Regions from separate parts of the Homo sapiens genome. Here all the other regions are linked to region 2. Evidence: promoter capture Hi-C in 16 types of primary human blood cells and fetal thymus (Javierre and others, 2016). All regions are on one chromosome and are shown on one strand. Each heading gives the region's core, a stretch centred on a gene start or on the middle of the fragment in contact. The rest is flanking DNA. Distances are from core to core; before and after follow the strand shown.

Region 1 (2,700 bases), core at 184-2,683, 160 kb after region 2:
GTTGCAAATGACAGGATCTCATTCTTCCTTTATGGTTGAATAGTACTCCATTGTGTATATGTACCACATTTTCTTTATCCATTCATCTGTTGATGGACACTTAGGTTACTTCCAAATCTTGGCTATTGCAAACCAACATGCAAGTGCAGATATCTCTTCGACATACTGATTTCGTCTCTTTTGGGTATATAGCCAGCAGTGGGATTGCTGGATCATATGGTAACTCTATTTTTAGTTTCTTGAAGAACCTCCAAAGTGTTTTCCATAGTGGCTATATTAATTTACATCCCTTCCAACAGTATATGAGGGTTCCCTTTTTTCCCACATCCTCGCCAACATTTATTATTGCCTGTCTTTTGAGCATAAGCCATTTAACTGGGGTGAGATGATATCTCATTGTAGTTTTGATTTGCATTTCTCTGATGATCATATGCCTGATTGCCATTTGCATGTCTTCTTTTTAGAAATGTCTATTCAAATCTTTTGCCCATTTTTAATTGGATTATTAGATTTTTTCCTATAGAGTTGTTTGAACTCCTTATATATTCTGCTTATTAATCCCTTGTCAAAAGGGTAGTTTGCAAATATTTTCTCCCTTTCTGTGGGTTGTCTCTTCACTTTGTTAATTGTTTCCTTCTCTGTGCAGAAGTTTTTTTTAACTTAATGTGTTCCTGTTTCTCCATTTTGGCTTTGGTTGCCTGTACTTATGGGAGTTAACTCAAGAAATTTTTGCCCAATGTCCTAGGTATGTTCCCCAATGTTCTGTGTAGTAGTTTCATAGTTTGAGGTCTTAGATTTAAGTCTTTAATCTATTTTAATTTGATTTTTGTATATGGCAAGAGACAGGAGTCTAGTTTCATTCTTCTGCATATGGATATTCAGTTTACCAAACACCATTCATTAAAGAGATGGTCTTTTCCCCAGTATATGTTTTTGCCACCTTTGTCGAAAATGAGTTCACTGTGTATGAGTTTATTTCTGGGTTCTCTATTCTGTTCCATTGTCTGTGTGTCTCTGGGCCAGTACCATGATGTTTTGGTTACTATAGCTCTGTAATTTAATTTGAAGTCAGGTAATGTGATTTTTCCAGTTTTGTTCTTCTTGCTCTGGATAGCTTTGGCCATTGTGGTCTTTTGTGGATCCACGTAAATTGTAGGATTGTTTTTCTATCTCTGTAAAGAATTACATTGGTATTTTGATAGGGATTGCATTGATTCTGTAGAATGCTTTGAGTAATATGAACGTTTAAACGATATTGAGTCTTCCAATACATGAATGTGGAATATCTTTCCATTTTTTTTCTGTCCTCTTCAATTTCTTGCCTCAATGTTTTATAGTTTTCTTTTTCTTTTCTTTTTTTCCTTTTTCTTTCTTTCTTTCTTTTTTTTTTTTTTTTTTTTTTTTTTTTGAGACAGTCTTGTTCTGTCGCCCAGGCTGGAGTCCAGTGTCACAATCTCGGCTCACTGCAACCTCCACCTCCTGGATTCAAGTGATTCTCCTGCCTCAGCCTCTTAAGTAGCTGGAACTGTAGGCATACACCACCATGCCTGGTTAATTTTTGTATTTTTAGTAGAGATGGGGTTTCACCATGTTGGCCAGGCTGATCTCAAACTCCTGACCTCAGGTGATCCACTTCCCTTGGCCTCCCAAAGTGATGGGATTACAGGCATAAGCCACCACGCCTGGCCCATAGTTTTCATTGCAGAGATCTTTCACTTTGGGTAAGTTAATTCCTAAGTATTTAATTTTATGTGTGCTATTATAAATGGAATTCCTTTTTGAATTTATTTTTCAGTGTTCACTGTTGGCATATAGAAATCCTACTGATTTTTGTATGTCGATTTTGTATCTTACAACTTTACTGAATATATCAGTTCTAATAGTTTTTGGTGGAGTGTTTAGGTTTTTCCAAATATAAGGTCATATCATTTGCAAACAAGAGTAATTTGACTTCTTTCTTTCTAATTTGGATGCCTTTTATTTCTTTCTCTTGTCTGGTTGCTTTATCTAGGACTTTCAATACTATGTTGAATAATAGTGGGCATCCTTGCTGTTTTCCAGATAATAGAGGAAAGGCTTTCCATTTTTCCCCATTCAGTATGATACTAGCTATGGGTCTGCCGTATACGGCTTTAATTATGTTTAGGTATGTTTCTTCCTTGCCTAGTTTTTTGAGGGTTTTTATCATGAATGGATGTTGAATTTTATCAAATGCTTTTTCAGCATCAATTGAAATGATCATATGGTTCTTGTCCTTCATTCTGTTGATATGATGTATCACATTGTTTTACTTGCATATGTTGAACCATCCTTGCATGCTAGGGATGAATCCCATTTGGTCGTGATGAATATCTTTTAATATATTCTTGAATTTGATTTGCTAGTATTTTGATGAGGATTTTTACATCAATATTCATCAGATATATTGGCCTGTAGTTTTCTTTTTTTGATGTGTTTTTGTCTGGTTATCATATCAGGGTACTGGCCTCATAGAATGAGTTTGGAAGTATTTCCTCCTCCTCTATTTTTCAGAATACCTTGAGTAGGATTGTTATTATTTCTTCCTTAAATGTTTGGTAGAATTCAGCAGTGAAGCCACTGGGTCTTGGGCTTTTCCTTACTGGGAGACTTTTTTATTATGGCTTAAATCTCGTTACTTGTTATTGGTCTGTTTAGGTTTTGGAGTTCTTCATGGTTCAA
Region 2 (2,700 bases), core at 133-2,632:
AGCTGGGACTACAGGCCGTGCCACCACACCCTGCTAATTTTTGTATTTTTAGTAGAGCCAGGGTTTCACCATGTTGGACAGGCTGGTCTTGAACTCCTGACTTCAGGTGATCCAACCACCTCGGCCTCCCAAAGTGCTAGGGTTACAGGTGTGAGCCACTGCGCCTGGCCTAATATGCGGTTGAATCCGATTTTATTACGTTTTATTCAGTATTTTTGCATTTATATTTATAAATTAGATCGTGCCCTGTTTTTTCAGTTTTATTTTTCTTTTTTGTTGCTCTCTTTGCCAGGTTTTGGTATCAGAATTGTGTTTGCTTCCAAAACGAGTTGAGAAAGAGTTGGTGATTTGCTTTCATTATTCCAAAATTTTAATAAATTATAACACCCAATTCCAATTCCAAGTGCATCTGATTACTCTAATGGATTCCTGTGGCTTCTGGGTCTCTATGATGAAGTCCTCCCTGGCATAGGCTCGTATATGGGAGCTTGTAGGATGTCTGCAAGTATCAGCTCACAGTGCGGCCGCTGATGGCTTGGAGGACCCTCACGGTGCCTTAAAACTTTTGCCTAGACAAGTGTCACGGGAGCCTCTCGCAATACATGCCTCCCTTTTCTTTTTTTGGAGACAGTGTCTCGTACTGTCGCCAGGGCTGGTGTGCAGTGGCGCGATCTCGGCTCGCTGCAACCTCCGCCTCCCGGGTTCCAGCGATTCTCCTACCTCAGCCTCCCGAGTAGCTGGGACTACAGGCACGCGCCACCAAGCCTGGCTAATTTTTTTGTATTTTTAGTAGAGACGGGGTTTCATCATGTTGGCCAGGATGGTCTCCATCTCCTGACCTCGTGATCCGCCTGCCTTGGCCTCCCAAAGCGTTGGGATTACAGGCGTGAGCCACGGCGCCCGGCCTTCCTTTTCCTTTAAGCAGTATTAAAAAAAAAAAAAAAAAGTCCTGAAGGATGGTTTCGGTCTCTTTCAAGGTAGACCATACCCTTGTAACTAAGCTTAAAAAATTAAAATCTAATTTTCCCTCCCTCTCCAAAGCAGCAAGGGAAAATTGGATCCACGGCCACGTAGGAGCCCCTCACGGCACCAAACCCGGTGTCTCCAGGGACGGGCGGAGACCAGCGGGTGGGCTTGGGCAGTACGCGCTTTTCTCTTCCGACTTTGGGCCAAAGCCTTGTCCGGAGATCACAGTGTCTCGCTCGGGGACACGCCCTCTCTAGGCCCAGACTTGGTCCCCACTGGAGTTCCCAGCCCCCCTCCCCGCTGCGGCACGCACATTCCCAATGCCGGGCGGGGCAGGGCGCAGCAGGCCCGCCCTCGGCGCGCGGCCAGGCTGGGCTCCTCCCCTGGAGCTGCGGCCGGGAGGGCGGGCGGCCGGGGAGACGGGGTGGCGGCTGCAGCCCGGGTAGGGCCAGGAGACCCGGTCCACGTTTGCAAACGCAGCCGAACGCCCAGGCCGACCCGTGCCGCCCGAGCGCCGCGCTGCGTCCGCGCCACTCTTCTCGCCGCCCCGATGGCGTTCCGGGGCTGGAGGCCCCCGCCGCCACCGCTGCTCCTGCTGCTGCTCTGGGTGACCGGGCAGGCAGCGCCCGTGGCGGGCCTGGGCTCCGACGCGGAGCTGCAGATCGAGCGGCGCTTCGTGCCCGACGAGTGCCCGCGCACCGTGCGCAGCGGCGACTTCGTGCGCTACCACTACGTGGGGACGTTCCCCGACGGCCAGAAGTTCGACTCCAGGTACCGCGCCCTTGGCGCCCGGCGCGGCCTCAGCGGATGCGCGTCCCTCTCTCCGGACAGGCCTTTCCCTCCTGCCGGACCTCCCCTAGCTCCGCCCCGTGCAGCCGCGCTCCTCCCTTCTTCCGCTGCCCAGATCCTCCCGGACCCCAGACCCTCCGCCGCGGGTGAGCCTCCCGGCCCTCACGTGCCCTAGGCTGCCAGCCGGGGACTGGACCCTTGGAGGACCTTGAGCAGCGGGGTTGGGGCAGACCACGTCCTCCCTTTCCTCCCAGCGCATGGACACACGCAAAATCAGTGTAAAATAATCAGTGTAAGTGGAGGCCACGTTGCACAACTGGACCCCCAAGAGTGGATGTTCGTGCCTGCCTCTCTTCGCCCTTTCCTGTTCCTTCCCTCCGCTCCCTTGGGAATCTAGTCAGATGGTGCTTCTCACACAGAACAATGATGAAGAGGCTAGCAGCCCCAAACATACAATGAGCTGTTAACAATGTGTAGGTGTAGTTCTAAGTACTTTCCATATTGTAGTGAACTCATTTAATTGTACAGCAGTCTTGTGAGGTAGGTACTATCACTACCCTCATTTTATCAGTAAGGTAACAAGCAACTGCGGCTAAGAAACGTGTTTAAACAATGGAGTCAGATTGTTTAATCCAACTCCAGAGTCTGTGTGCGCAACTACCACTGCCCTTCCTTTCCTGCCATACAAAAACCTCTCTTGGGGCTGGGCGTGGTGGCTCACGCCTGTAGTCCCAGCACTTTGAGAGAACGAGGCGGGAGGATCGCTTGAGCCCAGGAGTTTGGGGCTGCTGTGAGCTATGATCGTGCCATTGCACTGCAGCCTGGGAGACAGAGAGAGATCCCATCACAAAACAAAACACAACACGACACCTCTCGTGGGCAGGAGGTAGTCCAGGACCGTCACTCTGCTTTATACCAGGCCCTATATCAAGCCCAGAACTCCTT
Region 3 (2,700 bases), core at 75-2,574, 190 kb before region 2:
GGTGGTTTTTTTATCCAAACTTATTAGTAATTATAAGTGCAAAGAGATTAAATGCCCCAGTTAATAATCAAAGACTATCAGACTGATATACACCATAATAGATATGAAAAAATATTCTTAATAGCACTAATTATAAGAGCCTCAAATTGGAGGCAAAACAAATGCCCATTAGCAGTAGAATAGATAAATAAACTATGGTATATTTCATACAATGGAATACTTTACAGCAACAAAAAAAAATGAAGAAACTGCATATGCTTGCAGCAACATAAAAAAACTTCTAAAAACATAATATAAAGGTCAAAGACAGAGACATTAAAGATATCATATGATCTCATTTATATGAAATTCAAAACTAGCCAAAATTAAATTATCATATTTGGCAATGCACACATAGGTAATTGTATTAGTCCATTTTTCACACTGCTGATAAAGACATACCCAAGACTGGGCAATTTACAAAAGAAAGAGGTTTATTGGACTTACAGTTCCACATGGCTGGGGAGGCTTCACAATCATGGCAGAAGGCAAGGAGGAGCAAGTCACATCTTACATGGATGGCAGCAGTCAAAGAGCAACCTTGTGCAGAGAAACTCCCATTTTTAAAACCATCAGATCTTGTGAGACCCATTCACTATCACAAGAACAGTACAGGAAAGACCCATCCCCATGATTCAGTCATCTCCCACTGGGTCCCTTCCACAACACGTGGGAATTATGGGAGCTACAAGATGAGATTTGGGTGGGGACACAGAGCCAAACCATATCAGTGATAAAACTCTAAAGCAAAGCAGGAAATCACTTTTTGTAAGAGTCCAGATTGAAATATCTTTGTGGGGAGAGGGAGGAGATGTACAGAGAGGGGCTGGCAGAGTCTCTTTTTTGCTCTAGCTGGCAGGTTCAAGGGTGTTCAGGTTATTTTGGAAGCAGTGCAGAGAAGGGAGCCAGACTAGAAACAGGGAGGTGATCAACTGGGTCTCGGTTACATACAGAAAACAGCAGAGACAGCTGAAAGATCCTTCTCTGTGTTCACAGCCATCATCTATGACTAGCATCCAGTGATAGCAGGAACACTGATGCCAACATTTTTCAAAGTTTGCAGAAACGACTTGGCTCCTCCACAGAGCATTGTGAGTCAGTTCAGAAGAAATCAATATCCATCTTCTGTTCTCTTCTTGCCTGCCAAGGGGACCTGGAATCCTTAAGCTTTTGCTCCTGGTTTCCCACTTCAATATTCATCCAAAGAGTCTCCTCCTGCTTGTTTTCATTCTTTCTGCCCTTCCTTGTCCCCCAGGGTGGAGATCTCAAGTGCATAATACCCCACTATGCGGTGATGTTAGCCCCAGAGCACAGCTGAACACAGCATTCCTCAGGAGAAGATTCATCCTCTATATAGGGAACACTGGAGATATTGCTGCTCTAACCCCAAAGAACTCATCACCAAAGCTTGGGACTTTGGGCCCATGGTAGGCAACTGGAAGAGCTATTTGTGGCAAACAGTGTAACTCAAACATCATCATAACTATCTGACAGACTTTAAGGAGGCCAATCCAATGTTCTCAAGCCTGGCTGCATCATGAATCACTCAAGGAATTTATTTTTTATCCAGATTTCTGAACCCCCAACCTCGATTCTGACTTACTGGGTTCTGAGTAGAACATGGAAATCTGTATTTACAGCAACTCACCCAGGTGATTTATCCAGGTGGCTCTGGTGCAACTCTTCAATGGGATGGTAATTAGGAGCATCCCAGGGGGTCAGAGCTCACGTACCTCATGGCCAGGAACTGTGTAGGCCTCCTTTGCTTACATCTAAATGTTTTCCCCTGGTCCAACTGGAATACGAATGTTACCTCCTAAGAGTCCAACTTTATCACTTCTTCTAACCATCTAGATATCTGCTGGTAAACTCAAGACATCTCTAATTCTTCCTCTTTCCACTAGAGATTAAATGCATTTTTTTCACATAAAGATAGACTTTAATCTAATGTGGTTATGTATGCATATAAATGTCCAAATGAGAGCCAAGTTGGGAAATATGGCCATGTGTTGATGTGATGTCTTGGAACAAGGAAGGACACCTCTGCAGAGGTGTTTTGAGGGCTATACCAACATGCTGATGTGATCCCTTATCAAAGCACTCTAGAGCAGCCATTCTTAAATATTTTGGCCTCAAAAAGACCAAACAAGTCCTTTATGATTGCTTAAGTGTATTGTATGCATTGATATTTACATGGATATTTATAATCCATTCATGTTAAAACTTTAAAATGAAAAAATATTTGTTTATAAATCATTTACAAATAACAATAATAAACTCACTATATTAACAGAAATATCTTTTATATGAAAATAACTATTTTCAACAAAAATTTAGTGAGAAAAGTGACATTGTTTTAACTTTATGCAAATCTCTTTAAGTTTGACTTAATAGAAGACAGATTTTCATATCTTCTGCATTCAATCTGTTGCAATATGCTGTTTTGATGGAAATATATAAGGAAAATCAGTCCTCACAAATATGTAGTTAGCAAAAAAAAGAGTATTTTAATCTCCCTCTGCACTTAATCTGTTGCATTATAACATGCCATGTAACCTCTGGAAAATTCCACTGTACACATGACAGAACAAAAATGAAAAAGGCAAGTAACATCTTAATACTGTTAGAAAAATAGTTTTGACTTCACAGACCCCCAGGATT
Region 4 (2,700 bases), core at 10-2,509, 190 kb after region 2:
TCTCACCTCAGACTCCTGACAGTAGTTGGGACTACAGGCATGGACCACTATGCCCATCTAATTTTTTTATTCCTTGTAGAGATGGGGTCTCCCTATGTTGCCCAGGCTAATTATAGATGTTAGCCACCGTGCCCAGCCCACCATTAAATTGATGTTAGTATAATACTAAAGTTAAACTATAGATTTGATTTGGATTTTACCAGGTTTTATGTTAGATGCACTTTTTTTTTGTAGATAGTTCTAAGAAATTAATCCCAAAGAAATTGCCTTTTATTATTAGCTCCTCATAGTTACACCCTCCTGTAAACCTAGCAACCACCTATCTGTTCTACATTAGTATGATTTTGTCATTTTGAGAGTTAGAAATGTAATTATTTAATATTTTAGCTTTTTGGATTTTTTTTTCATTCAGCATAATGCTCTTGCAGTCTATCCAAGTTGCAAGTGTCAGTTATGTTTTAAATTCTTTTTTTTTTTCTCGAGATGGAGTCTCGCTCTTTTGCCCAGGCCGGACTGCAGTGGTGCTATCTCGGCTCACTGCAAGCTCTGCCTCCCGGGTTCATGCCATTCTCCTGCCTCAGCTTCCCGAGTAACTGGGACTACCCGCCCGGCTAATTTTTTGTATTCTTAGTAGAGACGGGGTTTCACCGTGTTAGCCAAGATGGTTTTGATCTCCTGACCTCGTGATCCGCCCGCCTCGGCCTCCCAAAGTGCTGGGATTACAGGTGTGAGCCACCGCGCCTGGCCTAAATTCTCAAGTTATATTGGTATGGTGTAGATGTACCATAGTGTGTTTAACCAGAACACTGAGTTTTTTTCTTTAATGTAAGTTTAAAACATCATAAAAGGGGATCAAAACCAGAGCAATGGCTAACACTTATTGAGTGCTTATTATGTGCCAGGTATTGTACTAAGTGGTCTACTGTATTCCTTTTTGTAAAAAACTAAAACTGTATATTTTTTATTTTTAATTGTGGTAAAATAATGTGACATAAAATTGAACATCTAACCATTTTTAACTATATAGTTCAGTAATGGTAAGTAAATTGACATTATTGTGCAACCAATCTCCAGAACTTCTCATCTTGCGAAGTCAACACTATATACCTATTAACAGTTCTCCTTTCTCCCTAGCCCCTGACAATCACCATTCTTAATGTTTCTGTGACTATTCTAGGTACCTCACATAAGTGGAATCATATGGTATTTGTCTTTTTGTGACTGGCTTATTTTACTTAACATGATGTCCTCAAGGTTCATCTACATAGCAGATGTCAGTTTCCTTCCTTTTTAAGGCTGCATAATATTCCATTGTATGGGTATACCACATTTTCTTTATCCATTTATCCATTGATGGATGTTTAGGTTGGTTCTGCCTCTTGGTTATTGTGAATTATGATACAGTAAATCCGTGTGTAAAAATATCTCTCTGAGATTGTCTTTAATTCTTTTGGATATCCACCAAGAAGTGGGATGGCTGGATCAAAATTTCTAGGTTTAACTTTTTTTTTTTTGAGATGGAGTCTCGCTCTGTCGCCCAGGCAGGAGTGCAGTGGCGCGATCTCGGCTCACTGCAACCTCTGCCTCCCAGGTTCATGGCATTCTCTTGCCTTAGCCTCCCGAGTAGCTGGGACTACAGGCGCCTGCCACCACACCTGGCTAAGTTTTTATATTTTTAGTAGAGACGGGGTATCACTGTGTTAGCCAGGATGGTCTCGATCTCCTGACCTCATGATCCACCCGCCTTGGCATCCCAAAGTGCTGGGATTACAGGCCTGAGCCACTGTGCCCGGCCCTATGTTTAATTTTTTGTGGGACCTACCCACTGTTTTCCATAGTAGCTACACCATTTTATATTCCCACCAACAGCGTACAGAGATTCCAATTTCTCCATGTCCTTGCCAACACTTGTTATTTTGTGTTTTTTTCTTCTTGCAATCATCATTCTTAGGTCGAATATATTTTTGTTTTTTTTGATAATGGATGTGAGGTGATATTGTTTTGATATGCAAATCAAAAATTTTGAACTGATTTTCAGTTCAAAATTAGTGATTTTGAGCATCTTTTCATATGCTCCTTGGCCATTTGTATATCTTTTTTGTTGTTGTTTGAGACAGAGCCTCACTCCGTAACCCAGGCTGGAGTACAGTGGCATGACCTTGGCTCACTGCAACCTCCGCCTCCTGGGTTCAAGCAGTTCTTTTGCCTTAGCCTCCTGAGTGGCTGGGATTACAGGTGCCCACTACCATGCCTGGCTAATTTTTGTATTTTAGTAGAGATGAGGTTTCACTATGTTGGCCAGGCTGGTCTTGAACTCTTGGCCCCAAGTGATCCTCCTGCCTCTGCCTCCCAAGATGCTGGGATTACAAGTATGAGCCACCGCACCCAGCTCATTTGTGTATCTTCTTTGGAGATGTGTCTGTTCAGGTTCTTTTGCCCATTTTTTAATGGGATGGTTTGTTTTTGTTGTTGTTGTTGAGTTGTAGGAGTTCTTTATGTATCCTGGATATTAATTCCTTATCATATATATGACTTGCACATATTTTTTCCAGTTCTGTAGGAAACTGCATTCTTATTTAATCATCACAACACCACTCTTACCTTTATTTTGTAAATGAGAAAGCGAAAGTACAGAGATGTTCAGTAACTTTTAGTAACCTTCCACTGGTTGCATGGTTAACATGTGGTGGCACAGGAATT
Region 5 (2,700 bases), core at 201-2,700, 140 kb after region 2:
GGCGTGAGCCACCACGCCCGGCCCAAAAGGTACATTTTTTTTAAAGTGTGTTTCAGTATATTTTTCAGAGTAAATGTTTTCATAAAGTATCTCTGCTTCTCATTTACTATTTTAGACACTATAAAAGCTTCTTTCTCAGGTTGAGTCTGTTCAAAACTCTCACTTTTAAGTAAATAAAATCACAAGTTCTCTTAGAATATTAATGGTGGCTGGGCACAGTGGCTCCTACCTGTAATCCTAGCACTTTGGGAGGCAGAGGCGGGTAGATCGCTTGAGGCCAGGAGTTCGAGACTAGCTTAGGCAACATGGTGAAACCCTATCTCTACAAAAGTACAAAAAAATTAGCTAAGCCTGGTGGCGCATGCCTGTAGTCCCAGCTATCTCAGAGGCTGATGTGAGATCACCTGATTCTGGGAGGTTGAGGCTGCAGTAAGTTGTGATCACACCACTGCACTCCAGCCCGGGTGACAGAGTGAGACCCTGTTTTCCTGACCCTGGTAGAAGGTTGTTTAATGTGTGGAAAAGGTAAAACAGAGGGTCTCTGGCCAGGGAGACCAGGGAGACATCAGGTAGGTCTGAAGGAAGCTGCTGCAATAGCCACAAAGGGTCACACGAATGAATGAAAAGCAGATGGACACATTTCCAGACTCCCTCCACTCGGCTCCCAGAACACTCATAGTATGGCTTTCCCTCCACGTGGGAGCCTTCTCTGGGAAAATATAACCCACCCAAAGAAGAAAAACCGATAGATACTGAACTCTGAGGCACGTTGTCTTTGCTTTTAACAAATAATCAAGGCAATGAAGCATTCCCATCAAAATTCTCAAGGAAACTGATTTTTAAATTAGAATTCAATATCCTGGTAGTTAAAAATCTGTTAAAGACGATTCCAGAAAAGTAAAGGTCTTAACATTTTTATCTTCTATAAACCCATTTTGAAGGTAACAGCCATAGGATTTGTTACACCATAAGGAGAGAATATGATAATAAAGAAGACTCAAGACACAGGAAAATGGGTGATCCAACACGGGAGAGAGGCTAAGGGGACCTGCAGAAAGATGGTGTCTTAGTCAGCTCGGGCTGACATAACAAAATGCCGTATTCTGGGTGGCCTAAACAACAGAAACTGGTTTTCTCATTCATTCTGTAGGTTGGAAATCTGAGATCAGGGTCCCAGCAAGGTGGGTTTGTGGTGAGAGCTTTCTTCCTGGCTTAAGATGACAGCCCTCTTTCTTCTTCACATGGCACGGTGGTGGGGGGTGGGGTGGATGCTTCCTTATCTAGAAGATGGAGAACGTGCCTTGGCTGTAAGAGGGCTGTGATGAGAACAAGTTAAATAAAAGAAGTAAACACTCTTTGTAAATTGAGGCATGTAAGTTGCATGGATTAGGGAAACTCTCCCACACTCACACTGCATAACTTTGACTTCTTTCCCCAGTGGCATCCAAAGTCCTTTAGTTGGTGCATGAGCCAGAAATTCCCTGGCGTGTTCATTGCCTGGTACATCTGGTATGCAATCTTCTGGCTTAGTCTCATCTTCCTAAAAAAGGGAACAGGTATAAACAGCATGGCAAGAGCGCTGGGATTCTCTCCTGCTCCCCTTGGAGCCACCCTTGCCTGGCTTTTTCCTGGGCTTCCGGTGCCAACATCATCTTAGTTACCCCTCAAAACTAGAAAAAAAGACAAGTTACACCTGATTGAAAAAACAGGAAACAAATGTACCAGAAGAACTATACCAAAAACAATGTAGCTGTTCTTAGAGAAAAGTTACTGGTGAAGCAGAAAAATCTGTCCTTATATAGCAATGACTGGGGAGCTCCAAATAAGATTCTGAGATTAAAAAAAAAAAGTTTCACTACCTCAAAATATAGAATTAAAGTAAACCAGGCTTCCTGGAATAATAGAAATGGCCTGTTATGCTAGAATAGTTTATTATACCCTGAAGGCCCTGTCATGTTTTACAGTCACACACATGCTATATCTCTGATGTACATTTTTACCACTCAATAACTGCATTTACAATTAATGTGTTTTCAAACTTTTGGATTTTTTTCAAGTTTCTATGAATATTAAATTTACAATAGACTCATGTTTTTAAAGAATATTTCTTCGCTGAGAGTTATGAAACAGCAAGTTTTCTTGGCCGTGGCCTGCCACTCTAAGTCTCCCTCGTGCACACACACCCTGGCACCTTGGCCAGGGAGCTGCAGGAGGGATGCCTGTACCAGGGAGCGGGACTGGATAGCTGTCAGATCTCCTCAGAGTTTACTGCTCTCTGAGCTGCTGAGCTCAAGAAACCAGCAGAGGATGGACCGAGGGGCTGAGCCGGGTGAGGCCGACAAGGAAAAGGAGCTTAGAGATGCCATCCCCAGCAAGAGAGAAGAGGGGCATGGCCAAGGAATCCACGTGGGCCTGCACTGGTTCTTCAGGGAAGGGAAACATGGCTGATGAAATTTCTGCAAAGGCAGAGGCTTGTGACAAAACTAAAAATTATGACCCCTCATTCATCTGCAGGAAAAGAAACAGGCTTTTGGTAAAAGGAGATTTAACATCATGCAATTATTTTTCATAACAAGTTACTGAGTCTACAAGTATGTCTTGTGGAATAACCAAGAGTACAAACTTCACACTAACCTTGATAAGCCCAGGAGGAGGTTTTTCGTAACTGGAAAACAAAAAACAAAACCTTATCAACCATGT

Evidence for each region. The method cuts DNA at HindIII sites, captures the fragments that hold promoters and counts their contacts. A CHiCAGO score of 5 or more calls a contact.
Region 1: a contact is called between a fragment that was not itself captured here and the fragment with the promoter of FKBP9 in region 2, in 1 of 17 cell types (neutrophils). The highest score is 6.7, in neutrophils.
Region 3: a fragment that was not itself captured here is called in contact with the fragment with the promoter of FKBP9 in region 2 in 1 of 17 cell types (erythroblasts); the score reaches 5.0 in erythroblasts.
Region 4: a contact is called between a fragment that was not itself captured here and the fragment with the promoter of FKBP9 in region 2, in 1 of 17 cell types (neutrophils). The highest score is 5.8, in neutrophils.
Region 5: a fragment that was not itself captured here is called in contact with the fragment with the promoter of FKBP9 in region 2 in 1 of 17 cell types (total B cells); the score reaches 6.5 in total B cells.

What each region holds. Positions count from the first base shown.
Region 1 is chr7:33,116,373-33,119,072 of GRCh38, forward strand. No RefSeq gene overlaps it. Among named protein-coding and RNA genes, the nearest start is that of RP9, 8.3 kb to the left of the region's middle. The HindIII fragment of the contact is 8,233 bases long and covers 1-2,700 here.
Region 2 is chr7:32,956,058-32,958,757 of GRCh38, forward strand. It overlaps FKBP9 (FKBP prolyl isomerase 9), which reads left to right and starts at 1,383. Exons shown (of 10, transcript NM_007270.5): 1 at 1,383-1,737. The coding sequence starts at 1,517. RefSeq lists enhancers at 230-1,180, 1,030-1,079 and a silencer at 1,170-1,639. The HindIII fragment of the contact is 4,605 bases long and covers 1,000-2,700 here.
Region 3 is chr7:32,767,965-32,770,664 of GRCh38, forward strand. No RefSeq gene overlaps it. Among named protein-coding and RNA genes, the nearest start is that of LINC00997, 11 kb to the left of the region's middle. The HindIII fragment of the contact is 240 bases long and covers 1,205-1,444 here.
Region 4 is chr7:33,141,474-33,144,173 of GRCh38, forward strand. The region is part of intron 1 of BBS9 (Bardet-Biedl syndrome 9); the gene reads left to right. Among named protein-coding and RNA genes, the nearest start is that of BBS9, 13 kb to the left of the region's middle. The HindIII fragment of the contact is 4,729 bases long and covers 1-2,700 here.
Region 5 is chr7:33,097,897-33,100,596 of GRCh38, forward strand. It overlaps RP9 (RP9 pre-mRNA splicing factor), which reads right to left. Exons shown (of 6, transcript NM_203288.2): 2 at 2,635-2,665; 3 at 1,411-1,540. Among named protein-coding and RNA genes, the nearest start is that of RP9, 10 kb to the right of the region's middle. The HindIII fragment of the contact is 2,651 bases long and covers 126-2,700 here.